Linked DNA regions of Homo sapiens: all the other regions are linked to region 1. Evidence: promoter capture Hi-C in human tissues and cell types (Jung and others, 2019). All regions are on one chromosome and are shown on one strand. Each heading gives the region's core, a stretch centred on a gene start or on the middle of the fragment in contact. The rest is flanking DNA. Distances are from core to core; before and after follow the strand shown. Region 1 holds the start of PRICKLE1 (prickle planar cell polarity protein 1). Region 2 has its middle 73 kb from the start of LINC02461. Region 3 has its middle 110 kb from the start of LINC02461. Region 4 overlaps GXYLT1 (glucoside xylosyltransferase 1). Region 5 has its middle 10 kb from the start of GXYLT1. Region 6 has its middle 150 kb from the start of LINC02461. Region 7 has its middle 170 kb from the start of LINC02461.

Region 1 (3,225 bases), core at 305-2,804:
ACCAGTCTACACCTTGGGCCTGTCTGAAAAGACAGATGGAAGTTCCCTCTACTCCTAAAGTACATTAAAAAATGTCTGATGGTGAACCACATCAATTATATAACATCAACTGCAGGCACAGCCTTCCAAAGTACTGATTAAGACGAGGCAGTAGACAACACTGTATGCATGAACAGATACAAGATACCATTTCAGTGATTTGTCATTCATAAAACTTATCCTAAAAGACACATATACATGCATCCATTTGATAGCACAAATGCATGTTAACTCTGCAGGAGAGGCAGATTTTTACATGTTTTTTTGGTTGTAGTTGTTGGTGCTTTTTTTTTTTCCTTTAGGCTGGTTCCCGTGGTGTGTTTGCCTTGTTCATGGTCTCAGTTCTGCCGCTGATACCCTTTTAAAAATCAGCAACCAAACGCGTTCGGCTTGTGATCCTGAACCCTCCTTAGGCAAGCTGGAACTAAGCGTGATGCAGCCGTCCTCCCTCTCTCCCAACCCCCAACCTCGTTCTTCAGCCTCCTGAAGACAATCTGTGAACAATTTTCCCAAAGTCCCAAGAATAACACAGCACTGCCAATAGTCACTGGCGATGCCGTTTGTTTTTCTTAGAGGGTAATGAAAATTTAACAGCTTTCTGCTGCATCCTGAGTCCCGCTCCTAATAACTATTAACATGCCTAGTTTCTTCAACTTTTTCTACCTCAAGAGAGGAAGACGCTCCCATTTTTTCCCTATATCTGTGCTACATTCAGCAAACACCATCGCGGGGCAGGGGGTTGGGGAGAGTGGTGGGAGTTGATTCGCCTCTGCCAAAAAGCCACCAGCCCCTTTCCCCAGCGCTAGAGGAGAGAATCGGTACCCTCCCTCCGGACGCCAGTAGGTGACAGGCGATCCTAAGCGGCGGGAACACGCCAACGCACCCTCGCCTCCCGGCGCCCCGCATCGCCTCGACCCTCGGGCTACAGAACCTGTTTCCACGCCGGAGAAAACCAAGGGAAGAGTTGGTTGTGATGCAGCAAACAGGAGCCATGCGGAGAGCCTCTGCGGAGCCCTGGCGATGCTGCAGCCAATATCTGCTTTCCCTGTCTACACAGCCCAACAAACCGATTATGACCTTCTCCCTGATCTTCTGCGACACCGACCCAGTCTGGGTGTCACAGACTCCGGCGGTGCCAGCGAAGGTGCCCGGCCCTACCCCTGCGGCGCTCGCCCCCCACCACCGCGCCGCAGCCCCCTCTGCGGAATCCGCCGGGATCCAGGCTGCCACTCACCTCGCGCGAGGGAGACGCAACTCGGCTGCACTGTCCTCGGCGCCGCTGCGGGGCTGCTGGGCTGCGGGGCTGCGGGGCTGAGGAGCTGCGGTCCGCGGCGTCAGGGGTGGGCGAGGGTGAGCAGCGCACGAACCATCCAGAGCCCAGAAAGTCTCCGTGCCGACCGCGGCGCGTCTCGGGGAAGTCAGCGCAGGCTGCGCGAGGCTGGCATGTTCCGGGCGCGCTGTCGGGCGGCGGCGGCCGCGGGAGACGGCGCTGGCAGCTGGGCTGCAGGCGGAGTGCGCTCGGGCTCCGGAGCCGCGCGCTGCGGCGCCGCCGCGCACCCCGCCCTCGGCCGCGGGGCCCGGCGCGAGCGAAAACGCGGAGCGCGGACGCCGCCGCGGGATCGAGGCCGCTGGGCGCGCGCCCACGCGTACCCCGGCTCGGCCCTGAAAGCGAGGTCGGGCCCGGCTCGGGCCGCGCCCGGGGGCAGGGCTGCGAGCAGGCCTGGGACCGGCTCCACGCGCAGCCAGTGGGGCAGAGCAGCAGGCGGATTATGCGCAGGGAGAAAAAAGTTCACCAACCGCGGTCCAGAGTCGCAAGTGCGGCTCGCTCGGAGCCTCTGCCCCGCCCCCGATTATAAGCCTTTTTTTTTTTTTTTTTTTAACCAACAATCCCGATGGACTGAAACACAGGAAGAGTGAAGGGACGGGGTGGGGGGTGGGGGAGAGACAAACCCAATTTCCTCTGATCAAACGATTTGGGTAGGGGTGCCTATTTGAGTTCCTTCTCCTTCGGGGGGTGTGTGAAGGGGGCAGTTAATTAAACACTTAGATTCCTTCCGGCGCGCCTTGCCGAGCTGGGGACCCGTTTGGACTCGATCCTGTCTCGTGTAATCCCACAGGCTGGTCTGAGTCTCTGCCCCGGAACCGGAGGAGTGATCTTTCAGAGCAAGAAGCCAAAGTTCAGCCTCTAGTCCGTTCCCTTCCCCGCCTCGACGGCCCTGGTCGTCTCCATGAAAACTCAGTGTGGGGGATCGTGCCCGCGAAAACCTCAGCCCACCGCAATGTCCAGAGCCTGACCCAAGTGAACGTGGCGCACTTAAAAGCGGGTTCAAAGCATTGATCCGAACACGGTGACAATTTTTCACTGGCCAAACTACTCTCCACATTTTCAGTCTGCTCAATTCCCAGAGCTGGGCTCTCAGGCGCACTCACCCACGTTGAACTGGGGCTCAGCCTGTTTGAAAGTTCTGCCCTGACATTTGTGTCACACTAAACCTTAGAACCCCCCACCCTCTCCAGTTCCGGATCGGTGGAGTCTCACCGTGTGGGTACTATTTCCCTGGACTGCAGAGGGCAGACACAGGCGGCAGCTGTTAACCCGAACTTGACAGGTGCCTCTGCAAAGCCAGGGCTTCCTTGACCTCTCCATCCTCTCCACAACGCTCTAGGATACTGTATCATCTTCCAGGAAGATGAGGATGTGTGTGGGGGGAGTGTGGAGGGAGGTGTTGACTGATGCAATTTTTATCCTTTTAAGAAAAATCAAAACTGCCAGTCTCAGAATTTCTCAGAACATCAAGTCTTTTCGATTTTCGTTGGGAATAAAGCAAAGGAATACTCAGCAAAAATGGAGCCGATGAAAAGAGAATGCAAGGAAATAAAGGCAAATGGAGGAGGAAACTGTCTAAATCCAGGAAAATGTATGGCTTCAGCACTGTGCTCTATAATTCTGACTCAGATCTCCCCACGCTGTAGATACTTTCTCCTGTCTAGATGCCCAGGCAGAGTTCCTGAGCTCAGATCACTCAGGAAACAAGGCTGTTGCTTTTGAAATAATTCCACTTGCTAGCGTTGTTTTTTTTTTTTTTTTTTTTTTTTTTTTTTTTTGAGACGGAGTTTCGCTCTTGTCACACAGGCTGGAGTGCAGTGGCGCGATCTCCGCTCACTGCAACCTCCGCCCCGCCCCCG
Region 2 (3,225 bases), core at 525-3,024, 490 kb after region 1:
ATTTATAACTATTGAGTGAGTAGGTAAGATTAGACCTAAAGAGTACATTAAATCTAGGAATGTACTAGATGTCTAGATGTGAATTGCTTTTAAGGGGGACTATTGTTCATAAGTAAAATTTACATAAATTTGTCAATTTAGGAAAATAAAAAGTTCTAAACAAACTGCAAAAAAAAAAAAAATTAAGGAAAACCAGGTAGCTAAACTTCGAAGCCATTAACAATTTAACAAAGGCGAATAGAGATTTCACCCACCAAAGAGACCAATGTATTACAGATATGATTGATATATTATGTAACTGTCACAGCAAAGGAGGTTGGATAGCTCCACAGGGTTGTTTCTGAGTCTTTAATCTTATTATATTAATCACAAATAATGTTTCCTTATGAAGTAGATCGTGTTACATTTATTATAATTATGATGGCTGCCTCTATTGTCTAGCAGTACAACAGAAAAAAATGAGTGAGAATGTAAAAAGAAGGGGAGAAAATTATGGAGCAGAAAGGTTGGTAGGCTTAAAAATCATCACCCATCTTTTCAAGAAACAATATTCACTTGAGCAAATACACAATCTTGACAGTGAAAGATTTCTTACATTTATACAAAAAACATTTTTGGTTACTATTCTATATACAGAAGGTAAACACGTCAATGTTCCTAAGATGCTCTGCAGATGCAACTATAAATTAGACCTAGATTCTGCCTCAGTGATCTTATGTCTAGTAGTGGAAACCTGTCAAGAATATGGGTATTTACGACGCACTAATGGTTCAGTTAAACACTATAGGAGTTCTGAGGAGGAAAGTTATCTTCCTCGTAGTTTTATATTGGCAGGAAATATGTGCCCTTTTCAGTGTATCCACATGGTTAAGTCTCTTCAAATTCCAAAACAAAATGATATTTTGCAACAAAAACTTAGTCTTCTTTTTTTTAAAAAAATTTGTTTTTGCAACAAAAGCAATAGTAAATCCCTTACATTAAATCTGTGTCTCCTTCTAGGTATTTCTTTATATCGTTTCTCCTCTGCTGATGCAAAGTTCTTACGAGAAAGTGTCTTAGTCTACTTTGTGCTACTATAAGAGGATACCACAGGCTGGGTAATTTATAAGGAATAGAGATTTATTTCTTACAGTCCTAGAGGCTGGGAAGTCCAAGAAGGGGCTGGCATGTGGTCAGGGTCTTCTTGCTGCATCATCCCTCGTGGAAGGCAGAAAGGTCTTGAGAGCATGACAAAGTATTGCGGGCAAACTCAATTTTATAGCAAATCTACTCCCATGATAATGACATTAATTCATTCACGAGGGCAGAACCCTCATGACCTAATTACCTCCTAAAAGTCCCACCTCTCAACACATTGGGAATTAAGTTCCCAATACATGAACTTTGGGGAATACATTTAAACTATGGCAGAAAGAGTCTTTAGTTCCTTTTTCCACATCCGTATTTAAATCCTGTCCACTCTACTACCCTCTGCAAACTGGCTATCACATCCCTCATTTCACTTTATATGTTATCAATTCCAAATACAATAAAGTATTTTGAACCCCTTTATTAACATACATATCTGCATTTAGCTCTCGGTTTTTTTTTTTTTTTTTCTTAATTGAAACTGTTTCTTCCCCTGGCATCCTAGATTTTGCCCTCTGGCTGATCAATTCCTTCTAAGTCTTCTTCCCATGGTTCTCATTCTCAGCCAGTCCCTTAAATGTTGGTATGATCTAGGGATTCTTCTTTGGCCCTTTCAATTCTTTCTCTCATCACATTACTCCTGGCTGAAATCCTCCATTCTTATGTTTTTTTCTACAAATAATGTATGTTTCCTACAAAATATTCATATTCTGTCTGTCATAATGTAGAAAGACTTCCCAACCAAGGACTGTATTTCCAAGACAAAGCTCTCTTGGATCCAGAAGAGAAAACAAGAATAATTTATAACAATGTAATATAATGAGAAATGACCAGTCACTTCTGGGCCAAGGGACTTTTAAACAAACTCTTATGACTTTCCCCATCTGTTTGAGAAAGTGGAACCACACAATGAAAGTAGACTGGGATCTATAATTCTCATGTGACTAAACACCAACCAGGAATCCTCATAATTGACTAGTATGTGAATCAAAAATAAATTTCCATTAAGCCACTGAGATTTGAGGATTTATTTATAACAGTGCCTACTATTCTAAAATAGAAATTGGTGACTTAAGTGGTATGGTGTAATTTTAAAAAACTTGAAATAGGATTAGTAGTATTATCTGTTCATTGTTACTGAGTTTAATATGACATGAGAAGAATGAAATGAAGGCAGACTACAGAGAACCATTTCTTAAGCAATGAATGACGAGAGAGAGAGAGAGCAAGAGAGAGAGAGAAAGATAATGCTAGCTCTGAAATATGGAGCCTTTCAAGGTAAGAAAACTTTACTACTTCTAGAACCAAATCAATAAAAAAAAGACCTAAAAAGGCTTTGAGAATATATAATACAAAGGCACAACCCATGAAAGAAATAATTGATATGCTGGACTTCAAAATAAAACAGTTGAGTTTTTGGAAACCACTGTTAAGAGAATGAGAAAACAACTACAGACTTAGAAAATATTTGCAAAAGACCGATACAAAAAAGGACTTTTATCCCAAATATAAAAGGAACACTTAAAACCCAACACTATGTAAATAAATAACCTGATTTAAAAATGGGCAAAAGAACAGGCACCTCACCAAAGAAAATACATAGATGGCAAATAAGCATATGAAAAGATGCTCAACATCATACATTATTAAGGAACTGCAAATTAAATCAATGAGACACCTCTAGACACCTATCAGAATGAAGAAAACCCAAAATACTGACAACATCAAATGCTGGCAAGGATGTGAAACAATAAGAACTCTTATTCACTGCTGGCAGGAATGAAAAATAGCACAGAAACTTTGGAAGACAATTTGACACTTTCTTATTAAACTAAACACACCATACAATTCAGCAATCATGCTCCTTGAAATGAGTTGAAAACTTATGCCCACAAAAACATGTACACACAGATGTTAGCACAGCTTTATTCATAATTGCCAAAACTGGGAAGCAATCAGGATGTCTGTTCTTCACTAGGTGAGTGGATAAATAAACTGTGATGCATTGAGACAATGGAATATTATTCACCACTGAAAATAAATGCTATCAAGTCATGAAAACACATGGAGGCTAAAAAGCACATTAGTCAATGAAAG
Region 3 (3,225 bases), core at 444-2,943, 460 kb after region 1:
GATACAGCTGGAGGCCATTATTCTAAGTGAATTAATATAGGAATGGAAAACTAAATGTAAGTTCTCACTTATAAGTGGGAGCTAAACACTGAGCACAGATGGACCCTAAGAAGGGAACAGTAGACACTGGGGCCTACTTGAGAGTAGAGGGCAGGAGGAGGGTGAAGATCAAAAAATTACCTATTGGGTACTATGTGCATTACTTGGGTGACAAAATAACCTGTACACCTAACCCATGCGACATGCAATTTACTCATGTAACAACTTGCACCTGTACCACATGAACCTAACATAAAAGTTGGAAGGAAGGAAAAAAAAGAAAATATAGAGTACAAATTTCTCCCTTTTTGGAATTATTTTTTGATTGCTCAAAATATAAGCTTGATTGTAAATGTTAAAGCAATACTGAGGAAGATAGTATACTTTCTTTTTTCAATTTATAATGTTTGATACATATTTTATATTAATGTTGGAGTACATAAGTTTTAAAGATTTTCTGTATCTTTATTAAGTCATTTATGTCACCTCTTGTTCTATCATAAGCTGACTGAGATTGAGTCAAATGTTAAGCAATTCCATTTCATTAATTTTGTATTGCCTTTGAAACTCTTTTTTGTGCATTTTGCCACTATAAAATGATCTTATTTATTCCATTTAATATTTTCCCCTGTAAATTCTATCTTGCCCAGTATTTCTCTAGCCATTCTTGCTTTTTTATATTAATATATAGTTTATACATCTTCTTATATTTATTTGCTAATCCTTTAACTTTTTATCTTTCAATTTTTATGTTTCTTCAATTTTTTATTTAGCCTTTAATATATGGAATTTGTTTTATTGAATTTTACCTTTGATAATTTGCAAAGCAGACATTAGTTTTAAACGATTTCAGTATATTTTTGATTCTTAAAACTATGGCAATTGAATTTTGAGAATAAAAAAACTTTAGAATTCAATTCAGATAAAGTTTAAGGTTAAACTTCATCATTATCATCATTCTCATCATTCTCAAATTCCAGAGCATCAGTCCCTTCTGAGGCTCCTCCTATCCCTCTGCCCATTACATTTTAGTTTCCTTTGTCAGTTCCTTTCTCTCTATAGAACCTTGAAGGGGTGTAGCTCCTAAGGGCATGGTCCTGGGCCCTTTCTCTGTAGGAAGTGACATATGAACTGAAACTGGAAGGGTAGGCAAGAGTCAGTCTAATAAAATGTTTGGCAATAATTTCATCCACTCCTGTGACATCAAATACCATCCATAGATGGTCATTTCTAAATTATCTCAAGAAGTCCAAGAGGATTTCCATACATCTCCTTTCCCCTTGCTCTACAAACACAGTTCATTGACAAACTCTATAGAGTCTTCTGCCATAATATAGCAGAATCACTTTTGGCCCTCTGTATGCACGGATTGATTCTTCTGGAACATTCTGTCACTCACCTCTTGCCAGGCTGACGTCTACAGTTGTATCGTCGTCAGCGTGAGCATCACTTCCTCCAGGCACGCTCTGCTCTAGCACTCTATACTTCGTTCCATTACCAAATCAAATGAACTGGTTTTCTTATGTTCCTTCCTGGGTTAGAATGCAAGCTTCTAGAAAAGAGGAACGATGTCCTATTTATCTTTACAAGTTCGGTGCCCAGCACACCAGTCACCCAGCTGGTACTCTATGAAAATAACTTGTTGAATGATTGAATAAATGGATACAAGTAATTGAACAACTAAGATAATGCAAAGAGTAAAGCATTTCCCAGACATAAAGAATAAAGCAGTATGATGTATTTAGTGAACTCCAAATGGTTAAAAATTGCTAAAACGTGGAGTGTGCTGCTGTGTTAGGATGGGGAGAACAGTGGGAAATGAAGCTGGTGAGGTGAGGATGAAGTGGATGGGCTGTACTCCATGCTAAAGTGTGTCGTAAATGTGTTCACTTACTAATAGATTTTGAACAGAATGCTGCTTCTGTCTTAGATGGGGTGTCCTCTTATTTTTCAGTGAGAAATAGAACAGGCAATCTACTTTCAGTTTCTTTATTCCTATGTAAATCTATTTGCTCCCCTGAATTTGTGCTGCAGAATTTATTCATCTGTGTCATGTCAACGATTTTCTCTTTCTTTGTCACTAAGTAATTGGAAGGGTTAGGCTGTGCAGATGTCTCATGTTCTCTTACTGTCCATGAGATCACTGGAGAGATTGAAAAGCTTGTGACATATTTATCAGCCATTTTAAATTTTTTGTGTTGCTTTTTCTAAATCTGTTCAGTTTTTTAATCTCTATGCTTATTATTCATTATTGCTTATCCAGAGCTCTTTATATATTAAGAGGGAAAAATTAACTTTTCAAAATATTGTCATTAAATGTGATTAAATTATTTCTACTGTTTAGAATCCCTGCTCAATTTGCAATTTTGCATGTAAATGTCTACTATCACCAAGAAAACTGTTCTAGGAACAGACAGCTTATTTGGGACAATGGCATTACATTTTGTTCTGGTAATACCAGGACTGTATTTTTCTTTTACGTTTTTTCTAAAAATGCCTGGGTATATGCAAATGTAATCAGAAGGGCTGAATACTAAAACCATCAGCATAGTTCTCTTATTACTTGATTCTGCACACCATTATACTTTTTTTAAAGAAAAATATTGAGCTCTAAAATCAAATTTTAAGCTGTGGAATTCTTCCCAATAGCTTTGTTATTTAGAATAGCAATGCTTAGAAAATAACATGCAATGAATAATCATAAAAATTGTATTCTAGTTTTTATACTGTTTCTACTTTTCTTTTAAAATTGTCCCTTGCTGATGGCATACATCACTTATTAGAATGATAACCAAGAAAATAATCCTGTAAAATGAACTAGCGAAATCAAGATAATGTAGATTACAACAGCATTCTCTCTCATTCTTTTTTTAGGAATGTGTAATGAGCAGAAATAATGTGGACTGTGACTTGGGCTCCTTTTATCTTTACATTTTTTTCAAAGAGGCAATCTTACCAACTGATTTACAGAACTCATTTTTCCCAAAGTGTTTAATTTTTTTGTACAGCTATTAAATGTATGCCTATAAATTAAATATTTAAATAATGGTAGTAGTAAAAAAAGTGCTGGGATTACAGGCCTAAGCCACTGCACCTAGCCAAGGAACATTTGATTTTTAAATGGCTATACATATATATTTGACAATGACTATATATATATACCCACACCCACACATACACATATAT
Region 4 (3,225 bases), core at 409-2,908, 460 kb before region 1:
AATTTTTTTATCGCAGTACTGATCATTTCTCTTATGATAATCCTGTTTACTCCAACTTAAAAATGATTAAATTTTGAAAATTTGTGTTTCTACGAATACTTCAATCAATACATTTTATTAAGTACCGTTTAGAAAATTTTTTAAAGCCTAAGAAACAAATTACCCACCACTATTAACATTTTCGTATCTTTACTACCCCATATTTCAAAAATATCTTCCTACAAATATTTGACTAGAAAAGTTAACGTGTATGTTGCCAACATGCAGAAGTTGCTGAAACTACTTGATCTTCGTTAGTCTCAAGAAAACGCCCACGTGAGCTAGAGAGCACACCTCAAACTCCCTGTTCTCAGGAAATATCCACCAGGGAGCTTCTAACTCAAAAGACCCTCTTGCAGTATTACAATTAAACTGTATTTGGGGGCAATGTTTTTGTTTTGTTTTTTTTTTTAAGTTGATGCAAGATGACGAAGCCACAGACATGAGAATTAAATTCAACAAGACCAACATATTGAACAACTCAGTAACGAGTTTAAATTTTGTGAAGCTTTGAGCCACACCAAGAGCCCTACACTTCTGCTAGTACCAAACTAGGTGCCAAGTATGGTGGATTAAGGATGATCACACATCTGACACTTCTATTAATAAGTAGGATCTGCTGCACGCAGTGGTTCATGCCTCTAATCCCAGCACTTTGGGAGGCCAAGGTAGGCGGATCACTTGAGGTCAGGAGTTTGAGAATGGCCTGGCCAACATGGTGAAGCCCCATCTCTAATAAAAAAAATCAGTCAGGTGTGGTGGCGGTTGCCTGTAATCCCAGCTACTCAGGAGGCTGAGGCAGGAGAATCGCTTGAACCCAGGAGGCGGAGGTTTCAGTGAGCCAAGATCATTCCATTGCACTCCAGCATGGGTGACAGAGAAAGACTCTGTCTCAAAAAACCAACCAACCAACCAACCAAGTAGGATCTAACTCCCCTTATCCAGAATCTAAGTGGGCTCTGTGATTGCTTTGACAAATAGAATACTGAATATAATACTGTACCAATGTCCAGGCCCTTCCCTTAAGAGCTCCACATCCTATTTCTTGGAACACTCTTTGAACCTGATCTTCACGTTGTAAGAAGCCCAAGGCACATGCAGAAGCCACTTGAGAGAATGCAGATCAACAGCCTCCACTGAGCTCCTAGTCAAAAGCCAGCATCAACTGCTAGCCATGTAAAAGAGCCACAATGCCACACCATTCTGATCTACCAACCTACTGGTTCCTCCCCAACTCACAGAAAACTAGCATCCGGTTCACAGTCCTCGTCTCAGTACCAAATCCTACTTTCCTCTAACCATTCATTTGGTAAATCAATAAATTTTCTACTGAATGACTACCTACACAGGCCAAACACTGGCAACACTATAGTGAGTAAAATGGACATGGATCATACTGTCTAGTGGGGAGTAACAGAATGTCATTTCAGATACTGCAAGGTGAGAGACCTAACCAACACCCAGGTTACACAATTCTTTAAATCCAGTAACTCTTACCTCCTTTTCCCTTCAGTGAAAAATGGCAAATGCTGGCCGGGCACAGTGGCTCACACCTGTAATCCCAGCACTTTAGGAGGCCGACGTGGGTGGATCGCTTGAGCCCAGGAGTTCAACACCAGCCTGGGCAACATGGCAAAACCCCATCTCTACAAAGAATAAAAAAAAAATTAGCCAGGCATGGTGGTGTGTGCCTGTAGTCCCAGTTACTCGGGAGGCTGAGTTAGGAGGATAGTTTGAGCCCAGGAGTTTGAGGCTACAGTGAATTGTGATCATGCCAATGCACACCAGGTCTGGGCAACAGAGTGAGACCCTCTCTGACAAAAGAAAAAAAAAGAGAGAGAGAAGAAAAAGTAAAAAAATGACAAATCCTGGACCCTGTCAGAAACTGCAATCCAATACCTCATCTCAGACTAGTCTCTGATCTAATAATTATGGTTCTTTTTTCTGAGACAGGGTCTTGCTCTGTCGCTCAGGGTGGAGTGCAGTGGTACAAACACAGCTCACTACAGCCTCAATCTCCTGGGCTCAAGCTATCGTCCTGCCTCAGTCCCCAAGTATCTAGGACTATAAGCATGTGCCACCAAGCCTAATTTTTAAAAAATTTTTTGTAGAGACAAAGTTTTGCTTTGTTGCCCAGGCTTATTATTTATATCCCATTACATGTGTGGAAATCACTCAGCCCTCCAATCACATGCTTCCTAAGTATAAGCTCCCTGCTTTACCCATTTCCCTCCCTACTCAGACTACATCATATGGTTCATCCATTCATGTTCCTATACCTGCAAACTTCCACCTTCTTCTTTCACCGTACCTTTTCAGCACAATCTTCAGTTGAAACTGAGCTGTTCATTCACATTCTCAGATGAATACTGAAGAACAGTTAATGACATGACTATGCTGATTAGTAGAAATATAAATTAATTGTCTTCCCCTTAGCTAGTCTCATACCTATTACCAACTCCATATGCTTCCCCTTGTTGCCCATCTTCTTCTCAGGAGTCCTTAAAGACCTTCTTGCATCAATTAGTCTTTCTTTCTCCTTAACTGGCAATCTCTATTTGTGTAGTAGACTGTATTACTGTTCAGTTATTCACTCCCCACATTTAACTGTAAAAGGATTATACAACCCTATTCATTACCATGGGCCTTGCCTGCCTGATAAGGGAGGCATATATCCCTGCATCATTTATTGACTTTGACCTTATTCAAGTGACTTGCTTTGGCCAAAATAATATAAAAAGACATGATACTGTGGCATCAAAGTAGAAGCTTCAAATGGGACTGTGTTGTTCAATCTGGCTTCTTGCTCATCCACTACCACAAGACCAGGCATATCCAATGTATGGATTGCTCCTTTAGCTTGGATCCCAGGATGAGAAGATATATCAAGCAAAGTCATAGCCATAGACATGTAATGTGTGCAAGAAATAAATGCTTGCTATTGTAAACTGTTTAGATGTATGGGGTTGTTACAAAGCAAAGCAGAATAATACAAGCATAATTCCCTTTTAAAGTGTGTAATTCAATGGTTTTTCGTATATTCAGAGTTGTGCAACCATGACTCACCAATTAAATTCCTCAGTATATACTCAAGAGAACTGAAAACATGTTCACAGAAAAACTGTCCATGAATGCTCAGAGCAGCATTATTCATAATAGCCAAAAAGTATGAAAGAACTCAAATGT
Region 5 (3,225 bases), core at 408-2,907, 430 kb before region 1:
ATGGAGACAGATAGTAGAAGGATGGTTACTAGAGGCTGGGAAGGGTAGATGGTGGGGGTGGTGAGGATAGTTAATGAGTACAAAAAAATAGAATGAATAAGACCTTCTATTTGATAACATAATTGTACATTTAAAAATAACTAAAAGAGTATAATTGGATTGTCAGTAACACAAAGGATAAATGCTTGAGGAGATGGATACTCCAATCTCCATGATGTGATTATTATGCATTACATGTCTGTATCAAAACATCTCATGTACCCTGTAAATATATACACCTATGTACCCACAGAAATTAAAAATTAAAAAACAAAATGTGTTCACCGTCATTTTCTTTGTCCTTTAGAAGTCTTCTCCCAAACTAGTTTTATAACCTTCCAACTCTTCCCATTCTTGCTGACTCCAAAAGTAAACACAGGACCATTTTATTGTTGGATTATGAATTAAAAGAGGATAATGAAAATAATATCCATTTAGTTTCTGAATTTTCTTGCTAAAAGATTTATTAGAAAAATGATGATGAGGTGGTAGCTTTCATCCAAACTCCCTTCTTCCAGGTAGGTCAGCCGATTTAAATCTAGATGTAATCTAAAGACCTACTAAAACTGTATGTATTATTTCCACTCCTCAGGAATTCCAGATGGGGAGGTATGTATCTCACTGGATCCTTGCCCCAAATAGTTCCCCTAGGAGTTTATTCTTACAACTTGAAATAAGGAAGATTTTTTTTTTAAATACTATTTGGCCTGATTTACACTAGATATTTGTGGCCATTTATAAAAACAAAAGAAAAACAAGTAGATAAAAATCAAACTCTGGAAAAATACAAAAAAGATCAAGAATAAGAAATTAGATTAAAATAGAAAAAGAGCCACCACCAGCCTCCATGGCTCACACCTATAATCCCAATACTTTAGGAGGCCAACTCGAGAGGATGGCTTGAGCCCAGGAGTTCAAGACCAGCCTGGGCAATGTTGTGAAACCCAATATTTATAAAAAATACGAAAAGAAGAAGAAAAAATTATATTTCACAATTTATTATTTGTCATGATGTGAAGCTTGAATCTTTATATTAAATCTTTTCCTCTGATTAAAAAAAAGACTAAAAAGTTAGAATGCAGATAAGCAGACAACCAAGGCTACATAATTATTAAAACTGAACTCAATTTTTTTTTTTTTTTTTTTTTGAGATGGAGTCTCGCTCTGTCACCCAGGCTGGAGTGCAGGGGTGGGATCTCTGCTCACTGCCACCTCCATCTCCTGGTTTCAAGCAATTCTCCTGCCTCAGTCTCCCAAGTAGCTGGGATTACAGGTGCCTGCCACTATGACCAGCTAATTTTTTGTATTTTTAGTAGAGACGGGGTTTCACCGTATTGGCCAGGCTGGTCTCGAACGCCCGACCTCAGGTGATCTGCCCACCTCGGCCTCCCAAAGTGCTGGGATTACAGGTGTGAGCCACCGCACCCAGCCTGAACCCAATTTTAATAGGAGATTTCTCACAACTACAGCAAAAATATCGGGCAACCAATTAATAATCTGCTTTGTCCATAAGGAAAAGGCAATTTCTCAGGTGAAGTAAAGCTCTTTCTGAAATAAATCTGAATAAAATTTCTTTTGGACAGAGTGATGTAATACGCTTCTTCATCTACAAAAAGGACATAGCAGACCTCATTCAGCTGTTGTATGATTTTTTAAAAATTAGTGCAGGAAAATGATAAATTGTCTCACTTTACATGGCTTAAAGTCTTAAACTTTCAAAAATTCAAGCTGGAGTAAATAAAAGTGGAGTTGGGCTAAAACTACTGGTGACACCCAAAATTATCAGCTTCAAACATCAAGATGAGGCCCTAACATTTTCAATGTGGACTTGCAGTAGATGCTTTAGCCTAGGTGAATTTTCTAGAAACAAATGGGTGGCAAGCACTCTCTCTTGTCTGCATCTCATACATGTTTTTATTATTGTAGTTATGGCACTGTAATTATTTACAGTCTCTAAGATGGCCATTCCACATCTTATTGAGTATGTATATTCATACATACTCAGTAAGTGTTCACTGAATTAAATAATACTCAATAAGTGTTCACTGAATTAAATAATACTGATGTAAATAAAACCAAAGTCAACAAAATACTTACTGTATTACAACAGTGAAATAGCTATTACAGTCCATAACTCCCAGCAACAGGGGAGACTAAGAATGTGAAACATGTCCCAGAGCACCGAAGCCTTCCAGGTAGCTACTTGATTTTTTCCATTGAAGTATTTAGTCTTATGGCATTTCATATGCTCCAGAATTAGACTATTCCATAAAGACAGGAATATCTGCACTGGCTAAGCACAAAGCCTAATTCAGTTGACCCTTAAACAATGTGGCGGTTAGACACACCAACCCTCAAGCAGTCAAAAACTCGCATACAACTTTTGACTCCCCGCAAACGTAACTACTAATAGCCTACTGCTGACCAAAAGCCTTACTGATAACATAAAGTTAATTAACACATATTTTGTATATGTATTATATACTGTATTCTTCAACAAAGTAAGCTAGAGAAATTGTTAAATCATTAGGAAGGAAAAATATATTTACTATTCATTAAGTGGAAGTTGATCATCATAAAGGTCTTCATCCTCATAGTCTTCATGTTGAGTAGGCTGAGGAAAAAGAGGAATGGTTGATTTTGCTGTCTTCGACGTGGCAGAGTTGGAAGAAAATCCATGTGTAAGTGCACCCACGCAGTTAAAACCCATGTTGTTCAAGGGTCAACTCCACATTACATACTTAAAATTTAAATTATCTGGGCTGGTAGGAAAATGCATTCAGGAAAGTAGTTAATAATTTTCTTTTGTTCTTACAAATGGCCACATATATCTAGTGTAAATCACGCCAAATAATATTTTAAAAAAACCTTCATTTCAAGTTGTAAGAATAAACCCCTGGGGGAACTTTTTGGGGCAAGGACCCAGTGAAATAGATACCTCCCCAACTGGAATTCCTGAGGAGTGGAAATAACACACACAGGTTTAGTGGGTCTTGAATTACCTTGTAATTCAAGGTAAAACTTCTCTGTGACAGCTTCCTAAAGCGAACTGGTTTTGATGAACATCATTCTGTATTACACATACTGCTGTCTTAGTAAATAGTCTACTAAACACAAGTTAAACTTTAGCTAATGACAGAGTCATCATGAAGATGCTTTATCATGTTTTTAAAACGTCACCAGAGA
Region 6 (3,225 bases), core at 257-2,756, 420 kb after region 1:
TGGACTAACCTGAGTCTTCCTATGAATTAACGTGCATTTCAGTGAGTGTTGGAAAGAGACATACTTTTAGTAGATTCTGGTTCTGTCGACTACGTTAATTCTTAGAATCCTATGTTAATTTCCATTTAATGTGAGCTTGTTGTTCATGGTTTTAGGGGGAAAAGTATCAAAAAGACTTAATTTGCAGTATTTTTAAAAACACATAATGTTCTGAAGCCTCACTGTAACTCATTTTAGGGTTCAAATCGCACAAGTACACAAATACAAAGTTTTCCAGTACTTTTTGTACCAAATGTACTTTGATGAAATTCAAGGCAGATCAATTACATAGTCACAAATTGAATTGTTATATCCACGAATGGAAGCTATGTTTACAACCATGCCACATACTAGTGAAAGCATGCAGGCAGTCAATAGTGACTACAGAATTTTTTCACAGCGGGGTTTGGGGTGGAAAACGAGTGTGTGGTGGAGGGAAATGGCATTTGTATGGCAAGCACATTTTTTATGTAGAATGTATGTTACAAATTAATTAAAGTAACAGCTTTCTACTTCCGGATGCTTTCCTTCACACCTTATTAACATAGAGAAATGTCAAGGGTCTATATTGGAAAATATTATTTCATTTTACTTGGGGTCATTGGGGGATTGATAGATAACATTTGTATGTGGTATTCAAGTTCCCTCCCCACATTCAAGCAACCCCTTAATGCCAAGGCTGGTAAAAGTTAAAGCAATTTAAGAAAACATGAGCCAAAAATAAAATGTTGACCATGTGAACTGGTTGGTTCACTTAGGTCTCTGATTTCCCATCCCCAGCTCTCATAGCCTGACAGATATCTAGGAGATGATGCCATTGTAGGCATAGCATAATTATGGAAAGAGGAAAAACATGTTAAGCTTTAGAAAGAGAAAAAATCATAAAGATGCATGTAGAAGACTATACTAGCAATGTGAATATAGAAATTCCTCCAGAAACTCAAGCAAGATTCTAAATGTAGTGACTGTTTTCTCCCACTCCCCAGTGCCACTGAACCTAGGGCTACAGTAGGTGTCTTTCTTGCTTTCATTACAACTTTAGCTCATTGTTTCTACTTCTTGCCTACAACTCCCAGACTTGCTACTTATATCTTCAGACTATACCACTCTCATCTCCTCCATGTTGACCACATAGCCTTGGCCACTTTCTCTCATTACTTAACATTTTTAGCTTTTGTTTACTGGCTCTCCATTCAAACTTCAGGGGCATTTCAATATCCACATAGATGATCTTTCTGATATGCTGCCCTTAATTTCCTCTCTTGTAATTTTTTTCTTCTCCACCCCACGTTAGTCATCAACTCCTATTGTCATACATACAATAAGCCTTTATATTACCAATAACGGTATCCCCAGTGGTGATAAACATAATTGATCCTACTACCATCTCATTGTTTTTCATCCCCTTGTCATCCTTATTTCTCTCTTCACTCAACATAGATTCCAAGGTCTTTCATCATCATTACCATTATCATCACAATCATTATCTCCACTGCCTTATTATATCTTCATTGCATGCACCTAGAAAATCCTAACTGCATGAATTAAAACCTGCATCCACACAGTTAAATGTGGCTGGAGGAAATAAAACTAAAACACAACCCATCACAAAGCCTGGTCTCACTTTAAATTAATGACTGCCATCCTCAACTGGATTGTCAAAGTTGCCAAGCAATCCCACCCCAAATCCCTAGTCAATTCACTCCATTGTTCTTCTAGATAATTATTTTATTCCTTCTCCCTTTCCTTAAAACTTGAAAACCCCCTCCCTCATCTTCACTCTCAGGTGATAACCTTGCTTCCTATGTCACTGAAAATTGTGTCATATATTCCCATCACCACATCTACCAGACCCACTAGCAACTGTATCCACAGGCTTTAGTGTTCACCTACTACTGTGGAAGAATTGTCCGTGCTTGTATCTGCTTAATCCTCTGATTGAGATTTAGATGGCTTCTTTCCTTTTCTCAAGGTTACCACTTCAGCAAATTTTTCCTTTCTTTTCCTGGAATCTATATATTTTCCTCTCTATGGGAAGAAAATTCCATAAATATATAAACATACCATAATGTCCCCAGCTAAAGCAATACAAAACACTTTCTTGGGCCTGGCGCGGTGGCTCATGCCTGTAATTCCAGCACTTTGGGAGACCAAGGCAGGCGGATCACCTGAGGTCAGGAGTTCAAGACCAGCCTGGCCAACATGGTGAAACCCTGTCTCTACTAAAAATAGAAAAATTAGCCAGGCGTGGTGGCACGTGCCTGTAGTCCAAGATAGGAAGCTGGGGTGGGAGAATCGCTTGAACCCAGAAGGCGGAGGTTGCAGTGAGCCGAGATTGCGCCACTGCACTCCAGCCTGGGTGACAATGAGACTGCATCTCAAAACAAAAAACATAAACAACAACAACAATACCTTCTTGAATCTGCTTTCTCCTCCATATACTGCTTTATCTTTTTTCTTTACTGAAAAAATTCCTTCAAAGAGATTAACATTAAAGTTTACTAGTTTTCCTACTGAATATGTGTTAGTGGCTAAGGAATCCTAACCAAATTACAAGTTGAAGAAAACATGCACCAGCATGAAGAGGAAAAGGCAGGAGAAGAAGCAGGTATTTCTGAGTCTTAGCCAGTCAGACTTGATCAAAGTTGCTGTCCCTCTCATCTCTCTCTCTCCATACATCATAACCACTAATATTCTTATCCACGAAGATCAAGCTTAAAAGGAACTAAAAACCTAGAATTTTTGTTTTTATTTTATTCTATTTCCAAGAAATAGAATCTTTCTTGGAAAAACTACTGGGGACATAGGTTTTTGAAAAACACTTGAGGGTCCCATTCATTTGTACTTTTTGGTGAGATATGTATTTGACTCCCAAACACTGAAACTTTTGGTAAACTTTAATCAGCTTTTTGTTTGATGTAAGCCATTCAGGGAGTTTAATGGAAAAAGAGGTGAACATGAGGACAGGCAGAAAGAAGTATCAGGACAGACCATATTCTGCATTTATTATAGTCTTTTTTTGTTAGAAGTTTTTCTATATTTTTCAAGTAGACTGGATTTATTCTTTAAGTAGCCCTTAGATGGCTGTAAGTCACATGAAGAATATTTATTCACTTTGCTTACAGCTTTAAGATTTGCAACTAAAATGAAATCCTACTTCTACAGCTCTGTGTGTGTGTGTGTGTG
Region 7 (3,225 bases), core at 496-2,995, 400 kb after region 1:
AACAGAGTAAAAATATAAGGTGTTCTTGCCTGAATGACAACACCTAGAAATAACAACGTTGAAGCAGTGTTCTTAACCACCTGCTTTTCTAGGCTAGGGAAAATAATCACAAAAACTTAAAAATAACATACCGTATTTCATTACTAAAAAGCTTGTTCCGACAATAATCAATATAAATTCTGATGTCCTTTACCTTCTTTGATATAGACAGATTTAGGAGTTGTCAAAAATTCAATATCTGATTTGCTATAAAAAGAACAAAATCTTGTAAATGAAAATAAATACTATGGACATTTTGTATCTATTTACAGTTTTTCTCCCCACAGTATCTCTAGAATCCATGGAGAGAGAGGGAATTTTTTTTTTTAAATTGGAAGTAAATAATAAGATTTGATTAAAATATGGCATACAAGATAAATATGTACAATAACTCCTCTAACTTATTTTAACTTCAGATAGTAGTTGACTGAAAACATCCTCGAAAGAAACATATATAAAAGAAACATATATATATCTATACATATATTCAGATTGTAGTTGATAAAAGTAGATATTACCTTTAGATAGTAGTTGACTGAAAACATCCTCAAAAGAAACATGTATAAAAGAAACATATATATATACATATATTTATATGATATTATTTTATACTTTGACAAAAGCATTTTTATACTTTTTAAATTCTGACAAAAAAGTCATCAAACAATAGAAATAATTTTATGTTTATTAAATTGTTTATTACTCTATTATTTTAAACAAATTGATCCTTGGTCTTCAGAAAAATTATTTCATACTATACACTGGTTGGCATGTACAAGATGAAGGTTCTGCCCTTGGGGCACAGGAAGACAATTATGTTTTAGAGCACTGCAGTTTGGACCATCAATCATTCATTTTTTCACAAGTATTTGGGTCCTTTTTCTCTTTTTGACCTTATTTCATATATTTGCAATTCAGAAATGTGCTCAAAGTTTGGCTTTTATATGTAAAAATTTAAATATATTTTTACTCACATGGCTCAAACAAATTTTACACTAAAAATGAATTGTGTTGGAATATAGAGCTAATTCCCAAGGAGGCACTGAAGCATCACTATTGACCTGGGTGAGGCCCAGATGTGTCTGTACACCAACAGGGGTATACGGCGTAAAGCAAGATGGTTATTAAAAAATGTAATAGCATGAGAATTCCAATGCATTTTAATAAACTCATCTTTCTACAGTTTAAGTTAATTTCTTCTACAAGAATACATGTATATGTATAAAATGGTCCTCCTTCTTATTAAAAAGATAATAATAACCTTTCACTGTGAAAGTGTGCCAAGCAAGAGGCTTTTATTTTTTTACAAAGCAATTTAAATGGGGACCCAGAGTAGACCATTTCACATGATATTTACAACTTCACCAATTTTAATAATTTATCTACATTTATTTTACATTCTCCATGACTGAATGGTGAGTCTAGAATATGGCATGAATTTTGCCCCCATTTACTAGGCCATTCTTGCTGGGAAGGTCTCTTTTACTCTGTAGCCATTTAAAGGTTTCATTCTGTTTCTCTTGAACCTACCCTTTCTTAACCATCTCTTCCTGTTTCTCTTAGTGATAGAAAAAAAAAAAATAAATCATCCCGGTAATAACCTCCAGTTCCTTCCCATGAGGGTTCTGCAACCTCCCTGAAAATAGAGCCAACACCCCTGGGCCCCTTGACGTGCTTGAATTTGTAGTGTGAACCCAGCATAGGGCCTTTCTCTGAGAACCTTACCTGAAAAAGTGTAGTGAAACGTTCAGAAGGAGCAGTCAGTGGCTCTAGTGGGAAATGGCCCAGGACAAAAAGTCTCCTCTTCATCTAGGGACCTGGAAAGGCTTTCAGCAAAGAAAAAATATTATAGGATTATTATTTTTCTCTCAAAGGTGTCAAACATTCTAGAAGAAGACCACCAGAAAACAGGTGAGAAAAGCAAAAGCTTTATTGCTCATAGTAGGAAGGTCAGTAGGAGAGCAAGACTGACCCTACCTTCTGGTTGTTAGCAGAGGTTTGAGATGTGACACAGGCATTTAGGTCTCGAGAAAAGGGCACAAGACACAGCGATATAAGAAGGGGTGGATGCAGGGATAACTGAATAGTTCTGCTTTCAGAAACACGTTCCTAAGCCTGAGCCAGTCAGGGAAAAGAGCATTCTGTGATCATTGGCTCATCAATAATATGACTAGGCCGGGCACGGTGGCTTATGCCTGTAATCCCAGTACTTTGGGAGCCCGAGGCCAATGGATCACTTGAGGTCAGGAGTTCGAAACCAGCCTGGCCGACATGGTGAAACCCCGTCTCTACTAAAAATACAAAAAAATTGCCAGGCATGCTGGTGGGCACCTGTAATCCCAGCTACTGGGGAGGCTGAGGCAGGAGAATCACTTGAACCTGGGAGGTGAAGTTTGCAGTGAACTGAGATTGCACCACTGCACTCCAGCCTGGGTGACAAAGTGAGACTCCATCTCCAAAGAAAAAGGCAATTTGGGCTTGAGTCTTACAGTTCTTTTTACCTATAGGTTGTGAGAAGATCTGAAGCTGTTACCATGACACTGAGTCTTGTCATGCCAACAGGATGAGTACTGTCCCTCAGGCAGTGCTCTGTCCTGCTGTTTCCTACCTCTGAGACTTGAATCTTGCATCTTCTCTGTTTCTAAAGTCCTCCCTCAACTTCACCTACCCAGACCTTAACCATTCTATGTGGCTTAGCTCAGATGTTATTTCCTGAAGTTTTCTCTGATTATGGCAAGGACTGCTATCTCCTTTTGAAGTCTATATGGTTTGACTGTAATGCTATTATTGCATTTCCCTCCTATTGCCTTCTACTGAGGTTATTTGTGTATTTATCCAAATCCTTTATTGGATTTATAATCACTTAGCAGAGAGAAAATTCACATGTGCCAGGCAGTGGGTTACATACTATCTGTGCCTAATCTCCTTTAATCCTGGTGAAATCTTTCTAATCTACGCATTATTGCCTTCATTTTTAAAGTGAAGAAACTGAGGCTCAGAGAGTTTGAGGGACTTGCCCAGGTCCCATGTTGGTAAGGGGTGGAATGGGGATTTGCACTTAGGTGTGTATGACCACAAAACCTAGGCTCTTTCCCACCTCCTTATGCTGATACTCTTAGGGCAGGGATTGGAACTAATTTTTATTCTCTGTAGGAACTGTTAGATATTTGTTGATTTAATTAGTGA

What was found. The method cuts DNA at HindIII sites, captures the fragments that hold promoters and counts their contacts. A contact is called where the count stands out against the background at its distance.
Region 2: a contact is called between a fragment that was not itself captured here and the fragment with the promoter of PRICKLE1 in region 1, in 2 of the 25 tissues and cell types used here (H1 embryonic stem cells and mesenchymal stem cells).
Region 3: a contact is called between a fragment that was not itself captured here and the fragment with the promoter of PRICKLE1 in region 1, in 2 of the 25 tissues and cell types used here (mesenchymal stem cells and thymus).
Region 4: a contact is called between a fragment that was not itself captured here and the fragment with the promoter of PRICKLE1 in region 1, in 1 of the 25 tissues and cell types used here (bladder).
Region 5: a fragment that was not itself captured here is called in contact with the fragment with the promoter of PRICKLE1 in region 1 in 1 of the 25 tissues and cell types used here (H1 embryonic stem cells).
Region 6: a contact is called between a fragment that was not itself captured here and the fragment with the promoter of PRICKLE1 in region 1, in 2 of the 25 tissues and cell types used here (heart left ventricle and stomach).
Region 7: a fragment that was not itself captured here is called in contact with the fragment with the promoter of PRICKLE1 in region 1 in 1 of the 25 tissues and cell types used here (mesendoderm cells).

The regions. Positions count from the first base shown.
Region 1 is chr12:42,588,192-42,591,416 of GRCh38, forward strand. PRICKLE1 (prickle planar cell polarity protein 1) reads right to left here and starts at 1,555. Exons shown (of 8, transcript NM_153026.3): 1 at 1,274-1,555. RefSeq lists a silencer at 1,559-1,808 and an enhancer at 2,278-2,835. The HindIII fragment of the contact is 9,160 bases long and covers 1-3,225 here.
Region 2 is chr12:43,080,828-43,084,052 of GRCh38, forward strand. No RefSeq gene overlaps it. Among named protein-coding and RNA genes, the nearest start is that of LINC02461, 73 kb to the right of the region's middle. The HindIII fragment of the contact is 4,842 bases long and covers 1-3,225 here.
Region 3 is chr12:43,046,152-43,049,376 of GRCh38, forward strand. No RefSeq gene overlaps it. Among named protein-coding and RNA genes, the nearest start is that of LINC02461, 110 kb to the right of the region's middle. The HindIII fragment of the contact is 4,998 bases long and covers 1-3,225 here.
Region 4 is chr12:42,132,345-42,135,569 of GRCh38, forward strand. All of the region lies in intron 1 of GXYLT1 (glucoside xylosyltransferase 1), which reads right to left. Among named protein-coding and RNA genes, the nearest start is that of GXYLT1, 11 kb to the right of the region's middle. The HindIII fragment of the contact is 5,711 bases long and covers 1-3,225 here.
Region 5 is chr12:42,153,260-42,156,484 of GRCh38, forward strand. No RefSeq gene overlaps it. Among named protein-coding and RNA genes, the nearest start is that of GXYLT1, 10 kb to the left of the region's middle. The HindIII fragment of the contact is 3,053 bases long and covers 132-3,184 here.
Region 6 is chr12:43,005,313-43,008,537 of GRCh38, forward strand. No RefSeq gene overlaps it. Among named protein-coding and RNA genes, the nearest start is that of LINC02461, 150 kb to the right of the region's middle. The HindIII fragment of the contact is 5,264 bases long and covers 1-3,225 here.
Region 7 is chr12:42,987,983-42,991,207 of GRCh38, forward strand. No RefSeq gene overlaps it. Among named protein-coding and RNA genes, the nearest start is that of LINC02461, 170 kb to the right of the region's middle. The HindIII fragment of the contact is 3,885 bases long and covers 1-3,225 here.